2 separate regions of the Homo sapiens genome follow, and region 1 is linked to region 2. The links are contacts of gene promoters, found by promoter capture Hi-C in human tissues and cell types (Jung and others, 2019). All regions are on one chromosome and are shown on one strand. The core of a region is centred on a gene start or on the middle of the fragment in contact, and the rest is flanking DNA. Distances in the headings are between cores, read along the strand shown. Region 1 holds the start of CD3D (CD3 delta subunit of T-cell receptor complex). Region 2 holds the start of IL10RA (interleukin 10 receptor subunit alpha).

Evidence for each region. The method cuts DNA at HindIII sites, captures the fragments that hold promoters and counts their contacts. A contact is called where the count stands out against the background at its distance.
Region 1: the fragment with the promoter of CD3D here is called in contact with the fragment with the promoter of IL10RA in region 2 in 1 of the 25 tissues and cell types used here (mesendoderm cells).

What each region holds. Positions count from the first base shown.
Region 1 is chr11:118,340,742-118,343,954 of GRCh38, forward strand. CD3D (CD3 delta subunit of T-cell receptor complex) reads right to left here and starts at 1,964. Exons shown (of 5, transcript NM_000732.6): 1 at 1,812-1,964. The coding sequence starts at 1,866. The HindIII fragment of the contact is 13,514 bases long and covers 1-3,213 here.
Region 2 is chr11:117,983,452-117,987,895 of GRCh38, forward strand. IL10RA (interleukin 10 receptor subunit alpha) reads left to right here and starts at 2,943. Exons shown (of 7, transcript NM_001558.4): 1 at 2,943-3,083. The coding sequence starts at 3,017. RefSeq lists enhancers at 2,371-2,430, 3,821-4,120 and silencers at 2,621-2,720, 2,741-3,020. The HindIII fragment of the contact is 15,047 bases long and covers 1-4,444 here.

The DNA of each region.
Region 1 (3,213 bases), core at 714-3,213, 360 kb after region 2:
AAGCCTTCAGAAAGTTCCCCACCAACTGCAGGGGTCAAGGGGGACATGAGGATGCCATTCAAGCAGAGGACAGGTCTTGGGGCCTTGGTGCAAAAGAGGACCCCTCAGAGCAGGATTGACCCAAGCACCTTCCTGGAAATGAATCCAGACCACTGATGAGGAGTAGGGGGAGCACGGACCACTGAAGCACCTGGAAGATGTGGAAAGACAGAAGAACATTCCTCGATTGGAAATGTCTGCATTTTTTCTTCAAGGAAACATCTAATTCCACTTCCCAGCCATCTACAACACTCCCACTTCAGCTTCTTATCCTCATCCTTCCTCATTGCCCCTGCTCCATTGACAACCAAGAAAGCGGGGCTCTCAACACTGAAGCCTTTCCCAGGGCCAGGGATGGCTGTGGGTGGAGACCAGCTGGTTTACCAGCCCCTGAATTATCAGCCAAGTGGTCCAGAACGGGACCAGGGCAAATCCCATGTACAGTTTTCCACCCTTGGTTAGAAGGAGGAGAACAGGAAAAAAATTTTATTGAATCCATCCCTAGAGCTCCTCACAAGTCAAGTCTTGTGGGAGACTTTTAGGGCTGGAGGTGAGTGCAGCAACATTCCAGATGCAGTGAGTTCCTCTGACAGCCTGAGCACATCTCCACAGGCCACAGAGGCACTACAGTCTATGCCTCCAAACACAGGGAAAAGTGGAGGCTACATTCATTCATCCTGGGCTTCACACTAAGTCCCAAATTTGGATACAAGAGCATCTTCTAGAAAACCCTGAAACAGCTGTTGCTCACACTTCTGAAGCAGGTTGGAAGTATATGCATGTATCCTCAGGGAGACACATGCACATCAAATGCTTCACGTCCTACAGTCGCGTCCTCTTCAGGGATCTGTCTCCAGTGGAAATCCTGAGTGCCCTAGTGCAGCCAACTATTAGGTGACCATTGGACCCAGTTTGCTTAGTGTTGAAGGGGTTCCTCGGACATGGGACTTTCCATTTTAAAACTGAAATTGGCAAACTGAGATGAGTTAAAATCCTACCATGTAACAACCCCTCAAATCTTCCCTCCGTCCTGCTCAACCTAAAGTTAACTTCTCTTAAAGCATTCACATAAGTGCTAGGACATGCCTCCAGGGATGACATAATCATGGCCAAACAAACAAGAGTCCTGATTCCAGAGGCCATCAGGCCTAAAAGGAGTAGTGCAGGAAGCTGTGCTCCCATGGCCAGTCCCAGATTCAGGTACATACGTACTGAGCTATTTTCTGCAGATCTCTGGCCTAAGGCCTTCTGAGAGACATTCTAGGCCCACATGCACCCATGGCTGGAGTCAGTCAAAGCCAAGAGCCTGTTTCCCAGACTCTATGCTACATCCTGCCCCTGCCCTCCTGACACCCCTGGGGTGCCTGGTGAACTGAAGCTAGCACCGAGAAGCACTTTTTTTTTTTTTTGAGATAAGGTCTCACAGGTTGCCTAGGTTGGAGGGCAGTGGCATGATCACAGCTCACTGAAGCCTTGAAATCCCGGGCTCAAGTGACCCTCCTGCCTCAGCCTCTCAAATAGCTGGGACTACAGTTGTGCACCACCATGCCTGGCTAATTCTTTTGTTTTTTGTAAAGATAGAGTCTCATCATGTTGCTCAGACTGGTCTCAAACTCCTGGCCTCAAAGGATCCTCCCACTTCGGCCTCCCAAAGCTCTGGGATTACTGGTGTGAGCCACCGTGCCTGGCAAGAAACACTTTCAAGTGGGCCTCACTCCCATCAGTAATGTCCCTCTCAGGTCCCTTCCCCCACCCACCTGGAGTAGCCTTACCTTGCGAGAGAAGGGTAGCCAGTACCAGGCCAGAGAGAAACGTGCTATGTTCCATCTCCCAGCGGAACTCATCCAGTAGATAAAGCCAGGTCACCGAACTATCAGCCTGGGTGAGAGCTGCCCTCCCCTAGCTGACTCACAGGTACCGGAAAGAGGAGAGTGGGGGAGGAACTAGAAGATGTCTGCTTCTCTGCTTTCTGCCGTTGATGGTGGGAAATTTTCAGAGTGGGGGTGGGCTAGGGGTAGGGTAGGAAGGAAGCGGTGTAAATTGCTCTATCTCTGAGCAGGGAGCTGGCAGAGAATATGGAAAAGGTGGCCTGAACTTTAGCGTCCCTATTGACAATGCAACCACATTTACACACAACCTAAACACTGCCACATCTCGAAGCCCCTTGAGAGAAGCCGTCGGCCCCATAGCGCAAGCCGTAGCAGCTAGATTTCTCATGGAGGCTGATCTTTCTCAGGACCCTTCACTAGGCAGCCAGGGACACCAGATCTAGCAGCTTCTTGTCAGTGGGAGGTTGGGCTTTAGAGACCCCAGCCAGAGATTTGAATCCTGGGTCCAATACTGCCTACCTGTGGGGCCTGGGCCAGCCATAAAATTTTTCAGAGTCTTATTCCATTAGTACCATTATTAGGATTCAAACAAGATATTTGCATGGTGCCTCACGCATCATATGTGCTCATTAAGGGGTAGTTATTAATAATAATATAATTGACTGACAGGCAATATTGAGCCTCCCGGTGAGACAAATGGACCTTTTTCCCCTGTGGCCTACGAGGATCTGAAACTCTTCACGCTGCTGCAGTTAGACTGTCACTTACCTGGGGACAGAGTCATGCCTGTCTTGCTCACTGCTGTATCTTGTGCCTGGCACATAACGGGAGCTCTGCACATTTTTGTTGGCTCACTGACTGACTGGCTGAGGGAGATAGGGGCCTGAGATCCTGGACATTCAGTCCGGGCTCTGGCCCCTGAAAATGTGCTGGCCTGTCCTCGGAATTGTTCCACCTATTGCCTTCCAGGCGCCTCTTTCATGATCTCAAAAGAATAGTGAAACCAGGTGCCGTGTCTCACGCCTGTAATCCCAACACTTTGGGAGGCTGAGGCAGGTGGATCACAAGGTCAGGAGTTCGAGACCAGCCTGACCAACAAGGTGAAACCCCGTCTCTACTAAAAATACAAAAATTAGCCGGGCTTGCTGGCACGCACCTGTAATCTCAGCTACTCAGGAGGCTGAGGCAGGAGAATCGCTTGAACCCCGGAGGTGGAGGTTGCAGTGAGCTGAGATAGCGCCACTGCACTCCAGCCTGGGCAACAAAGTGAGACTCTGTCTCAAAAAAGAAAAAGAAAAAAAAAGTGAAAAAAATTCCTGAATGAAGGCCTGGACTGAGGTGGCTT
Region 2 (4,444 bases), core at 1,693-4,192:
GTCCCTGGTGAAACCCCACCTCCAAGTTGAAGACAACTTAAAACCTGAAAGCCAAGCTGCAAGTTAAATCTTCAGACCAGATTGAGAACCTGTCTTCCCATTTGGCACGCTTTCCTCTGATTGATCCCCACCCTTCACCTACTTTACATACACCTACCCTTTCCTAATTGGTTTTCTACACTGTCGTACCCACCTTTGAGTGGTATTTTCACTTTAACCTTTTTTGCATACTCACAAACCAATCGGCATGCACTCCCTATTCTGAGTCCAGAAAAAGCCCTGGATCCAGCCACACTGAGAAAAAAAAACACCCAACTGTGGGAGCGGGGAACCACCCCCCTCCCCATCCCCTCTCTGCTGAGAGCTGGTCCATCACTCAATAAAATTATTCTCTGCCCATCCTCACCCTTCAACTGTCAGCGAATTCTCATTCTTCTTGAACACAGGACAAGAGCTCAGGAACAAATGAAGGTACAAACTACAATACAGGCAGGGCGGGGTATGGCCGGGTGGGTGGGGCAGCAGGCCTGGAGTGGGGCCTTGCTGGCCAGAAATGTCCTGAGCCCCTCTTCTTTGGTTTGTCTGAGAACAAGGGCAGGGCTTGAGGGATGCACACACAGTCCCAAACACACATATGCACTTGGCAAACAGACAACGTTCTCCACACCACAATGAAATCCAAATCCACAGACTGGCCACTGCAAATCATATATGACTGCAAGTGCACACACACACACACACACACACACACACACACACACACACTTTGAAGCAGGTGTCAGCCTCCAAGAAAAAGTGATGGACAGTCTGTCTCTCATATCCTCACATATTTGGTTCACCTGGAGATGGCCTCAGATGAGCCAAGTGACACAGAGGTGCGAGAGACTGAGGATGTGCTGAGGTGTTACCCAGCACTCCAGTAGTGCTATTACCCAACACAAAAATTGGTCTGAATATCAGATTTCAAGCAAGCAAGGGAAACCCAGAAGAGACTGGGAGAAGTCCTTATGGAGGCTAAAGCAACTCCATGTTGGATGCTAATCCACAGTTTTGGCCGTGTTGGCTTTGGAGCCTCCCAGAAGACCTCTGAGATTCCCAATTTATCAATTGCTCCTTGTGTAAGTGCAAACACTTACTGTAAATCCGGCCCTTAGGTCAAACAACCTTGATGTTATCATACTTCAACTGTCCTACACATCTTTTCTGAATCACCCTTCCCCTGTGGTCTATAAGCCCTGGTCCTGGGGGTGAATCATGGAGACACAAACGTAGCTTCTGTTTATAAGTCCTTATTAAATGTTTTTTTCGAAGAAACTGGATGTGTCAGCCTGTAACCTGCAAAAGGATCTGGCTGCTCTCTGCTTGTAGAAAGAATGGATAATAAAGGAAAATCTGCTAGCTGCCATGCTAGCAGGGGAAGAGCAGCAAACAATTCCACTCTTCAATTCATGGGGGGAACGCAGGGGTTTTTTAAGAAAGGATCTGAAATGCAGAAAAGGCAAGGGGGAGGTTAGGAGGTACCAGGTGGTGTGACTTGCTCCAGTGGTCCTCTTTAATTATCGTCTTATTTGGTGGAGGGGCTGGTGCAATCGTGGATCCTGCCAGGTTATAAATTAGTTACTCTTCAGCAGGGTATATGTTCAACTCCTGAAGTAAGCTTTTGTTGGAGAGAGAATTCCGGAGGTGCCTGGTCCCTATCAGGACGCAGCTCCTGAGGCATCTAAGGAAATATATGACCAGGTAAGAGCATAGCGTGTGCTTAACAAGCACGTAGGTAAATAAACGTGCGTAAGGCATGGGAGTACAGTATGGGACAGGAAAGGGAGTGGAGGTCACAGCACGTCCTGAGGCTGTGTTTTAAGATGAGAGGTAACATACATGCAGTTTGTCTCAAAATTATATCTTGAGGCCCAGAGGAGGAAGAGAAAAAAGGAAAGAAGAGAAACTAAGTTTAAAACACGGTTTAAGGCTGGGCGCGGTGGCTCACCCCTGTAATCCCAGCACTTTGGGAGGCTGAGGCGGGTGGATCACCTGAGGTCAGGAGTTCGAGACCAGCCTGGCCAACATGGTGAAACCCCGTCTCTACTAAAAATACAAAAATTAGCCCAGGCGTGGTGGCACATGCCTGTAATGCCAGCTACTCGGAAGGCTGAGGCAGGAGAATCGCTTGAACCTGGGAGACGAAGGTTGCAGTGATCCGAGATCACGCCACTGCATTCCAGCTTGGGCGACAGAGCGAGACTGTAAAAAAAAAAAATAGATAAAAAAATTTTAAAAATCGCGGTTTGAGGCTCAGCTGCTGAGCTGCTGGTTAAAAGCCTCTTTCTTGGGTCTCTCAGCTTCCTGGGACTTTGGGGGCAGGTCTGCATAAACTGCTTAGTTGTGGACCCCCCTCCAACAATTAGGTAGGGGACTACTCAGTATTCATCCATCGGTGTCCTCAGACCCCCAGACGGGGAGGCCCTGGGGCAACGCCAAGACTCACACCGGCGTCCTGGCGCCTTTGCCCTCAAGGGCCTGCAACTACCTCCTCCCCATTCGGAGCGGCCGCGGCCACATCCTTAACGCCAAGCCGGCACGCCAGGCAAAAGCGGCTCGGACGCCCTCACCCCACCTTCCGCACTCAGGGCCGAGGCTGTGCCTGGCCACCTGCTTCCCAGCACATGCACACACGCGCGCGCGCACACACCCACACACACGTACCCACGGCCGGCCGGGCTACCCGGACCACTTTGATCCGAAGGCACTGGAGGCCCAGAGGGAAGGAAAGGGAGGGGTGGCCGGAGCCCGCTAGCGCCCCAGGACAGCCTCGGGTTGCCCCAGGCGGTAGCCCTGTGGGACAGTGGTTCCCCGTCCGCGGCCTCGGGGGCGGGGCGTCTGTAGGCCTCGCCCCGCTGACGTCAGCCCTGCGGGGCGCTGGCGGAGCGGGCGGCGGAGCTGTCAGTCCCAGCCCAAGGGTAGCTGGAGGCGCGCAGGCCGGCTCCGCTCCGGCCCCGGACGATGCGGCGCGCCCAGGATGCTGCCGTGCCTCGTAGTGCTGCTGGCGGCGCTCCTCAGCCTCCGTCTTGGCTCAGACGCTCATGGTAAGGCTCCGGGACGCGGCCCTTCCCTGCCCTGCCCTCTCCGCGCCCGCTCCATTAAAGTTCTCCATCCAGTGGAGAGCCCTGGCTGGCTGGCCCTCTGGCAGAGCGGTGCCCGGGTGCTCCCTTACTCTGGCAAACCTGGATCTCAGGCTCACCTGTTGTGGAAGTGGAAGAGGCTGAAATTGACAGGAACTGACGGATTGGGAAGGATAGAGAAGTATGCGCAAGGCCAAACCCCCAACCCGCAAACCTCATCATCCACCCACTTCTAGATGAGCCGTAAGTTTAGCTCTAGGTTTTTTGCTGTTTAGGTTCAAATGATGGGACTTCTTGTCCCCTTGGGGAATAATTTTGATCTCCTGACTCTCCCTTCTCTTAGTCGACTCTTCAACTAACCTCTGTCTGTCCTTCTCCCATCTCACCTTCATCCCTCACTGATCACCCCGATCTGATCCCCCTTGCTCCACCTGTAGCCCCCAACTCACTCCCACTGCCCCCTGCCTCTCTCCTCCTAACCCAGCCAGTTCAGGCTTCTAACCCAGTTCAGGCTCCTAACCCAGACAGTTCTCCGGCAAGGTTTCTGCAACTAAGAAAAGTAAACCCCAGAGACAGAATGAAAGAGCCGGGAGTTGGAAGGACCAAGAGCAGAGACAGAGAGCAAGGACCGAAACTGCTTCTTCATGACACCAAAATACAAAGTAAAACATGCAGTCAGCCATTCACGTGATCGAGAGCTGAGTCGGAGATGTGCAGCCCAAATACCACAACGACTCGCTGCATTTTTCACTTTCCGTCTAATGTTTCGAAATCAAGGCACTGACGTGAAGATCAAAGACGGTATAAGAAAGAAAGCAAGAGACAGATGACAGAGTCCTCCCCCCCAAAAAATAAATAAAAAACAGGTGCATGATTAGAGAGATGTAGAGAAGTTAGAACACTAGGGAGCGGGAGCAGAGTCGCTGTCAAATGGAGAGAACTTAGAGGATCAAGGAGGAGAGAAAGGGAACCAACCAGCCGTTGGCCTTGCACATACTTCAGTCTGCTTGATCAACAAGACTCTTAAAGTAGAAATGTTTGTTGCATTCTTACAAAGAAGACAATGCCTTCAGCAGTGTTTCCCATGGTGAATGGTGTGTACTGGGGGTAAAGGGAGAGTAGAGCTAGGAATTGGTATTGAGTATCTCTCCTCGGAGCTACAGGTGCCAGCTCTTGTGGGGATGTCCTCAGCCATGTGTAGAGCCAGAGCTGATTTATTCCATCTGTCCTTGCCCAGCCAGAGGTTGGACATCTGGCTATAGGCAAAGCCCTCCCAGAAACTAGGGAATGAGGCAAGCACTTAGCTTGGGGAGCCCAGGAGACCT